Regions from separate parts of the Homo sapiens genome. Here regions 2 and 3 are each linked to region 1. Evidence: promoter capture Hi-C in 16 types of primary human blood cells and fetal thymus (Javierre and others, 2016). All regions are on one chromosome and are shown on one strand. The core of a region is centred on a gene start or on the middle of the fragment in contact, and the rest is flanking DNA. Distances in the headings are between cores, read along the strand shown. Region 1 holds the start of BOD1L1 (biorientation of chromosomes in cell division 1 like 1). Region 2 overlaps FBXL5 (F-box and leucine rich repeat protein 5). Region 3 has its middle 7.4 kb from the start of FAM200B.

The links. Contacts are between HindIII fragments. The CHiCAGO score rates a contact against its expected background, and 5 or more counts as called.
Region 2: a fragment that was not itself captured here is called in contact with the fragment with the promoter of BOD1L1 in region 1 in 6 of 17 cell types (total CD8 T cells, naive CD8 T cells, activated CD4 T cells and 3 more); the score reaches 10.5 in total CD8 T cells.
Region 3: a contact is called between a fragment that was not itself captured here and the fragment with the promoter of BOD1L1 in region 1, in 5 of 17 cell types (naive CD8 T cells, non-activated CD4 T cells, total B cells and 2 more). The highest score is 12.0, in naive CD8 T cells.

Annotation. Positions count from the first base shown.
Region 1 is chr4:13,626,324-13,629,023 of GRCh38, forward strand. BOD1L1 (biorientation of chromosomes in cell division 1 like 1) reads right to left here and starts at 1,402. Exons shown (of 26, transcript NM_148894.3): 1 at 1,022-1,402. The coding sequence starts at 1,264. It overlaps MIR5091 (microRNA 5091), which reads left to right and starts at 1,542; the gene lies at 1,542-1,634. RefSeq lists enhancers at 831-1,561, 1,399-1,558, 1,562-2,292 and a silencer at 1,059-1,258. The HindIII fragment of the contact is 7,220 bases long and covers 1-2,700 here.
Region 2 is chr4:15,640,545-15,643,523 of GRCh38, forward strand. It overlaps FBXL5 (F-box and leucine rich repeat protein 5), which reads right to left. Exons shown (of 11, transcript NM_012161.4): 3 at 244-339. It also overlaps a transcript of FAM200B not described here. Among named protein-coding and RNA genes, the nearest start is that of FBXL5, 13 kb to the right of the region's middle. The HindIII fragment of the contact is 2,309 bases long and covers 505-2,813 here.
Region 3 is chr4:15,672,990-15,675,794 of GRCh38, forward strand. It overlaps a transcript of FBXL5 not described here and a transcript of FAM200B not described here. Among named protein-coding and RNA genes, the nearest start is that of FAM200B, 7.4 kb to the right of the region's middle. The HindIII fragment of the contact is 8,677 bases long and covers 1-2,805 here.

The DNA.
Region 1 (2,700 bases), core at 152-2,651:
AAAAAAAAAAAAAAAAAAAAGGAAACCCTCATTTCATCAAAACTCCAATCCAATGGACCCAACCAGATTTAACAAGCAGACAAAAACAACCCCTACAAACCAGTTAATTTTCCAACATGCTTTCTGCTTCCAGAATTCTAGACTGTACTGTGGTTTTCCATCCATCTCACTGACTGCTCTTTCCTGGTGTCTTTGGCTAATTCTTTGCCAATCCAGCTAAGTTTACTTGTTCCTGCTAATGTCCCTTTCACTCTGACATTTGGTACAAAATCCCTTCCCCTTTCCAGCCTCTCTTTCTGGACAGGGAACCTTGTTGCTGTCCTTTCCCTTCTCTACATTACTCTCCTGAATCTGCTCTCTTTCCTGTCCTTTCTCCACTTCAGTATCTGCTGTCACCTCTCCTGCATCTTTTCTCCACTGAATGACTCGGTTCTCTCTACCCCACCTTCCTGTCCCTTCTTACCTTAGAATGGTGACATGGCCTAAGTTACCTAAATCAGGCAATCACTGCTAGAAACAATACTAAAGTCCTGTCTCAGGTTTGCCTCCTTATCTTTGCGCTCCCACCCCCACGATGTCCAGCAAAGCATATTACACATAACTTGATTCAATTACCATTTAGTCATTTCTCCAAAGGATAAAGGCCCTTACCGCCCAGAAACCTTCAAGAAAGAAGGCAAACATAACTTCGATACAAAGTAAAATCATCAGATATGAGAATGAATACAAAACTGGCTACTGTTAGCGCCACTGTTTCCAAACCAGTTCCTGTAAGAACAATGCCTTAGTCTTGCTCATCAGACCGGGGTAATCACTGTGCCGAAACCATGACTGGCACGTAGTAGGTACTTAAACACTAGTCGGTAAAACGAACCAAAGGACACGCTAAGGAATGAACACTCTGTGCTTTGCACAGTCCGTGGCACACAGCTGCAGCTCCAAGAGGAAGCCACTGCAAAAGAAGCGCGCCCTTGGGTCCTCCCCTTCCCTCGCAGACCCCCAAACCCGGCGCGCTCCTAACCTTGGTGTCCACGTCGGCCAGGCAGTCTCTGCGGAACTGGTCGAAGAGCCCCTGGCTCTTGAGGTGGTTCACGATCATGGCCACGAGCTGCGGGTCCCCGGCGCCCGCACCCGCGCCGCCCGCCCCGCCCGCGCCGGGGCCAGCCCCGGGGCCCGGCGGCGGCGGCGGTGGCTGCGGCTGCGGCTGCGGCGGGGGAGGCGGCGGCGCCGGAGGAGGCGGCTGCGGCTGTGGGTTGGTGGCCATGGTGGCCTGTGCCGGGGAGGGCAAGGGCCCTGACCGGCGGACGATCCTGGGAGGCGGCGGCTGCACTGGTCCCGCCGCCTGAGGGAAGCCAACGGGATGTTGTTACGGAACCAGCGGATCCAGAGCAACCCCGGAAGTGAAAGGGAACTGGGGGAAAGGAGGAAAAGACGGTGACAACATTGACGAAAGTCCGGCGACGGAGGCCGCGAAGAGCCAGTTTCGACCGTCGCCGGGCGCAAGCGCCCTCGCGAGGCCGAGCTGCGCCGGAAGTGGCGGCGACTGTGGCGACGGAGACGACAAGACTGTGCTGGTCGCGGGTTGTGGGGTTTAGGTCACCGGCAGGGGTCTGGAGTCCCTGGAGGTTAGGGCTTCGACCCGCGCGACACCTGGGGCCCTAGGTCTGAGCGGGGGCAGTGCGTTTCTGGCCCCGCTTCATCCGCGACGGCATTTTAGGCCTGCCTCTCTTGCTCCAGTTTCCCGGAGCAGTGCATAGAGATCCATAGACATTTGTAATGCGAACCCTACGTGGATCTGCTCATTCTAACTTCGCCCAACCCTCTTCGTTCTTAGCCTGTGATCCTGCACTATTCTTGTCCCAGCAGGTAGCTCCAAGTTCCTTCTGTCTCTCTTCTGCCTGCACATACCATTTCCCCGTGGGGGTCCCTTGTTTCTGGCAGTGTGCCTGTGGATTAGATCCGATCCCTCCAGCCCGTTCTTCCTATCTGTGAAGACAAATCGACAGGCTTTTATTTTTAGGAGATTTGCTATTGATTACTATGATTATAGCAGGTAAAACATCTATAGCACATATTATGTACCAAGCGTGGCGTTAAGTGCTTTTACATGTATTAACGCATTTAATCTTTGGACAAACACTAAGAGCTAGGTCTGATTACTGTCCCCAGTTTGCAAATCAGGGAACCAAGGCTCAGATAAATTAAGTATGTTGAGTAAGATTACACAGCTAGCAAATCACCTGCTTTTGGACTGCATCATCTTTGAAATTATTATTAGTACGTGGTCAAAGCAACATAAATATTAGAAAATTTCATAATTACTAAATAGTGTGTGTAACTTTATTGAAAAATGCATATTGTTGCTTTTTAAAGTTCCTACATCTGTGGCTGAATATATCTTATTAGTAGGAAAAGAAGGGTTGAGCATCAATTCTATTCCTATTTGTAATTTTTATAGCTGTGTGCCCTGAGAAACCTTGTTCATATAAACAAGTACTGTGCCTAGGAATGGAAGAGTTTTGTTGTAGCAATATCATTCAATTCTTGACCTCAAAAAATTAGATTTGATTATCTATGAGCTGACTTCAATTAGGCCCTCCTTCTATTTTATGGAAAGCAAAGAGCTGAAAACCACCTGGCTTGCCAAAGGATTTGTTTACTTAATCCTTATTTTTTCACTCTTTCAGATTCTGGGAAATA
Region 2 (2,979 bases), core at 409-2,908, 2.0 Mb after region 1:
AAATTAATATTTCCTGAGTAAATTAATTAAATCATCTATTCAATGAAAAGCAACAACCTTTCTGAGAAAACAAAACAAACGTTTTTTTTTTCCCTTGGGTTTTCTTTTTTCCCAAAAAGAACTGCGTTCTTCTCTCCATCAACCAGATACATCTTCCTATGCATTATTTTGAAGAGTCTCTAAAGCAAAATAGTATTTTAAGAATGTTATAAATCTAAATCACGAAAGAAAAATTATGCTTACCTCCTCTTCCTCTTTCATGTGAGGAAGAAAATCTCTTGTAAAAGCCTCCAATCTCTCTTTCAGTTGTTTTGCATAATTTAACTGTTCATATTCATTCTGGAAACCAAAAAAAAAATACATTTTTATAAAAGTTTCGCTTCATTAATTATGTCTGGTCCCAGGAAGTTTAAAATGTGACATAAAACCTCCGGGGAAAAAAAAATAGACAAATTGCAAAGTGGTCTCTGTACTTTTAACATAAAAGATACCCATAAAACAGTAAGCTTTGAATTACTTTAGTAATGTATGTAACCCCATATTTTTAAAATATCATAAAAAGTCTAAAAATAGCACGTATCTGCCCACAGCTTTTATTGATGTATATATAAATTATATACATTTATATAATTTCTACATGTCAGTTCTCTTAATGTATCTCCAAGCCTAATGGACTGTATCATTACAGAATCCCTTTATGGTCATCTAGTGTCTCCTCCACTAAAAAACTCAGAATATAGTTGACCCTTGAACAACACAGGTTTGAACTGTGCGGGTTCACTTAATTACCGATTTTCTTCTGCCTCTCCCACCCCTGCAACAGCAAGACCAACCCCACCTCTTCTTCCTCCTCAGCCTACTCAATGTGAAGACAATGAGGATAAAGACATTTATGATGATCCACTTCCACTTAATAAATAGTGAATAGATTTTTTTCTTCCGTATGATGTTCTTAGTAACATTCTTTTCTCTAGCTTACCTTACTGTAAGAATCCAGTATATATATTTTACATATAATACATGAAATAATTGTTATTCGATTGTTTTATGTTATTGGTAAGGCTTCCAGTCAACAGTAGTAGGCTGTAAGTAAAGTTTTGAGAGATTCAAAAGTTATACGTGGATTTTCAACAGCACAGGGTGTTGGCAACCCTAATCCCCATGTTGTTCAAGGGTCAACTGTACCTGTTAACATTATCCTGCCAGGCACGGTGGCTCATGCCTGTAATCCCACCACTTTGGGACGCAGAGGCAGGCGGATCACCTGAGGTCAGGAGTTCAAGACCAGCCAGCCCAACGCGGCGAAACCCTGTCTCTACTAAAAATACAAAAATCAGCCAGGTGTAATGATGGGCACCTGTAATCCCAGCTACTCGAGAGGCTGAGGCACGGAGAACTGCTTGAACCTGGAAGAAGGAGGTTGCGGTGAGCCGAGATTGCACCACTGCACCTCAGCATGGGTGACAGAGCAAGACTCTGTCTTAAAAAAAAAAAAGAAAAAATTATTTGATGTAAGGTCATATATATCAATATCAACACTTCTAAAGGCAAGGTGCTCACTATATCTTGAAGTAACTCATTCTAATTCTGGGCAATTCTAAGGAGCTATAAACTTCTTCCTCATAACCTAAAATCACATTTCCCCACTTCTATATCAGCCCTCTCAAAGCATGTGGAAAATTTATAAAATAATGAAAACTTTTTTTTTTTTTTTTAAGACAAGCCTTGCTCTGTTGCCCAGGCTGGAATGCAGTGGTGCAATCTTAGCTCACTGCAACCTCAGGTTCATGCGATTCTCCCACCTCAGTCTCCTGAGTAGCTGGGACTACAGGTGCCCATCACAACTCCCAGCTAATTTTTTTGGTATTTTTAGTAGAGATGGGGTTTCACCACATTGGCCAGGCTGGTCTCGAACTCCTGACCTCAAGTGATCTGCCCGCCTCAGCCTCCCAAAATGCTAGAATTACACGGATGAGCCACCATGCCCAGCCTATGAAAACTTTTAAAATATGAAAATATTTTATCTCTGTTAAGTCTTCTCTGGTCTCTTTTTCCAGAACTAATTTATTCAACTGCTTCCCAATATTCAGTCTAATGTCCTGTTCTCTTACGACTTTACACATTTTCCCTAAGCATATCCACATGGCTTCCATTCCTACTTATATGCTAATAATAACTATCAAATTTGCTTTTTCATACTGGGTCACTCTTCTGACCATGAAATCCATCTTTACCACCTCCTATTCATAAATGCCCATCTGGATTACACAAGCAGTTCAAACCTAATCTGTCAAGAATGAATCTTTTTTATTTCCTGACCCTCTTCTATATACTCTAGAAAGTCAGGCTGAATCCTCATTTTTATTTCTTTTCTCTTCTTTCATCCTCCCTTTAAGTATAATCACTACATTCTATCAATTTTATTTCCTACATAATTCTCAAGTCTGATCCCCTCCCCTTTATTTCTACTAGTCATGACTTTAGTTCAGATTTGTCGAAGGTGTATTCATGTGGCAATACATAATATGATACAAAATTCAAAGAATACGAAAGAATATTCAATAAAAAAGTAAATCTCCCTTCTATTAATATTACTATCTAGTACCCTACCCCAACCAAACCTCCCACACCTCCCCACCAAGTAGCTACTAAGTATTCTTCCAGAAACTATTAGAATAATTTTTTAATAATGGTCTTCCTCCTTTAGTCTTTTCTTTATCTTTAATCCATCCTCCCTAAGCTGTAGAACAGCCTTTCCAGAACATAAATCTCCAGGTGAGGAGCACATGGTGGCTTAACAGAGTTGTAACTTAAGCTTACGCTTCACCAAGCCAGAAGGGAAATAAACTAAGATCAAATTTCAAAATCCTATAATATGTAAATGTAATTAAGAAGAAAGTCTCTCTACATCATTATCCTAAACTATACCCAGTAATATCTTTAGCTCACTGCAACCTCCGCCTCCCAGGTTCAAGCAAC
Region 3 (2,805 bases), core at 157-2,656, 2.0 Mb after region 1:
CAGATTTTGTCACCCTGGAAGGTCTTCAAGGGCAATAACATGCACAAAGCTGTCATCTATGATAACAATGCCTTCGTCTGTAATACTTTGAAGGATCTGTCTGAAGTTGTTTTACGGTTAACTTTTGAAAATATACATAGGTAGAAAAAGTATACTCTAAAATAACAATAGGGCAGGTGCAATGGCTCACACCTGTAATAAGCACTTTGGGAGGCCGAGGTAGCTGGATCGCTTGAGCCCACAAGTTTGAAACCAGCCTGGACAACATGGCAAAATCCTGTCTCTACAAAAAATACAAAAAATTAGCCGGGTGTGTTGACCCGTGCCTGTAGTCCCAGCTACTTGGGAGGCTGAGGTGGGAGGATCACCAGAGCCCAGAAGGTCGAGGCTGCAGTGAGCCAAGATTGCACTACTCTACTCCACCCTGGGCAACAGAGTGAGACCTCATCTCAAAAAAAATAAAGATAAAATAAGGATAAATGTATCAGCAAGACAGTAGACCAGCATCACCACAGACACATAAGACATCATCATTGAGATCTATGACATCACTAGGTGGTAGGAATTTTCCAGCTCCATTATAATCTTATGAAGTCTATCATTGAACAAAATGTCTTTATGTGATCCAAGACTGTACTGTAATATTTTTGGATGATCCTTTCCTTGGCCTCAGGTCATTTCCTCACATGCATACAGTGATCAATACTTACCTGAAGAATCAGGAGAGATTCATTCCAGATCACTAGAATTCTCTCTCTATGCAGCTCTCTCCCTTCTAGCAAACTCTGGCTGCACTGGTTTCACCAGGCTCCAGGCTCTATCAACAGAGGGATTCCACTAGGCTGCATATGTTCCCCTCTCCCTGTACTATGGCTTAGAAATTCTCCCAAGGCAATAAACTGAGGCAATCATAGGACTCACTTTGTTTCCTATTGATCAAGGTTCACTGTCCTTCATTGCCTGATATCCAATATCTTGGAAAACATTGTTTTATATATTTTGTCCATTTTTTATTGTTTCTGGCCTGTATCAAACTTTTAACCATTACATGCCAGAACAAAAATTGATACATTCAAGGAAAAAACTGGATAGATTTGTTTTCCAACACTCTGAATCAAAAACTGAGTTATGCTTGGTGCCTGCAGAATAGGAAATATTGTAGCTTACTTCTCTGGAAATACTAAAGAATGATTATGAAATATCAAATGCATCGTGTTTTTTTTTTTTTTTTAATTCTCTAGCCCTATGTCATAATGATGTATCATTCTTTTGGAGGAAATAGGATTGTTCATTGCTAAGTGGCATGAATGTAGTACCGCTATTGGTACTTTTAATTCTTAACCCATAAAAACAAAGAAACAGAGTTAACACTGTACTGGGTATGTGAGAACTGCACTTGAGATCCCAAACTGAAATCAACTTATGAATACATAGCACACTCATCACTTTAAATAAAATGTCCCCCAATTTTTATTATATTGTATTTATTTGGGATTATTTCTCCATTTTACGTTTATATATTAGTGAAATTATATGTAATCATAACTTTTTTCCTTACAAAATTATTACTCATGAAACTTTCATTTTAATCATAAAACCTTCTTTTCTCCTTATCAACTCATTTCTATCATCTTAGAAGATTATCAACGTTATGGGATTTTTGGGTTTTTTTTTTTTTGAGACAGAGTCTCACTCTGTCGCCCAGGCTGGAGTGCAGTGACGCGATCTTGGCTCACTGCAAGCTCCGCCTCCCACGTTCACACTATTCTCCTGCCTCAGCCTCCCTAGTAGCTGGGACTACAGGCGCATGCCACCATGCCTGGCTAATTTTTTGTGTTTTTAGTAGAGACGGGGTTTCACCGTGTTAGCCAGGATGGTCTCGATCTCCTGACCTTGTGATCCGTCTGCCTCGGCCTCCCAAAGTGCTGGGATTACAGGCACGAGCCACCGCACCCAGTCGGTTATGGTTTTTAATGATAAATTAATTTGTCATATACCTACAATCATTGTTTGCACAAATTCCCATCAGTTCACTAGGAATCACGAAAAAAAAAGCAGTGGGCCTGCCACTACAAAACACTTTATGCATCAAAACAGATGAAGCAACTGTAAGGTATTTCTGTGATGTGTAACCAGGCTTGTAGAAGACTTTTCCACATCATTGATTTTTTATGTTAAGTCACATAATTTATAGAGGAAAGCTACCTCCCTCTAGTTTTCACTTCCTATATTTTGTTCCATAATTCATTTTCTTCAAATTAAGATTAATTTATACTTAACATTTATAAGACAAGTAGAAATTAATATGGGAAGCAAAATACTAGTATATAAAAATGAGGTGAATAAGTACCACAAATAAAAATTATTTAGGACTAAATGACCAACTACTACTATAGTATATAAAGATTTTCTTGCATTGTTCCTATCCTGGATTTACCAGCCTTCAGGCTTAGATCCTATCTAACCCCTCTAACTATTACTTTCAAATTCAAGTCTTAGCTACCACACAGGCAGTGCAAAAACAGAACCACTCAAGGAGTTGAACCTTCACTATGTCTTAACTTCTCGGTCACAAAACTCCTATTTTTTTTTTTTTTTTTTTTTTTTTTGAGGCAGAGTTTTGCTCTTGCTGCCCAAGTTGCAGTGCAATGGCGCCATCTCAGCTCACTGCAACCTCTGCCTCCCAGGTTCGAGCAATTCTCCTGCCTCAGCCTCCCAAGTAGCTGGTATTACTGGCACCTGACACCACACCCCATTAATTTTTTGTATTTTTAGTAGAAATGGGGTTTCACCATGTTAACCAAG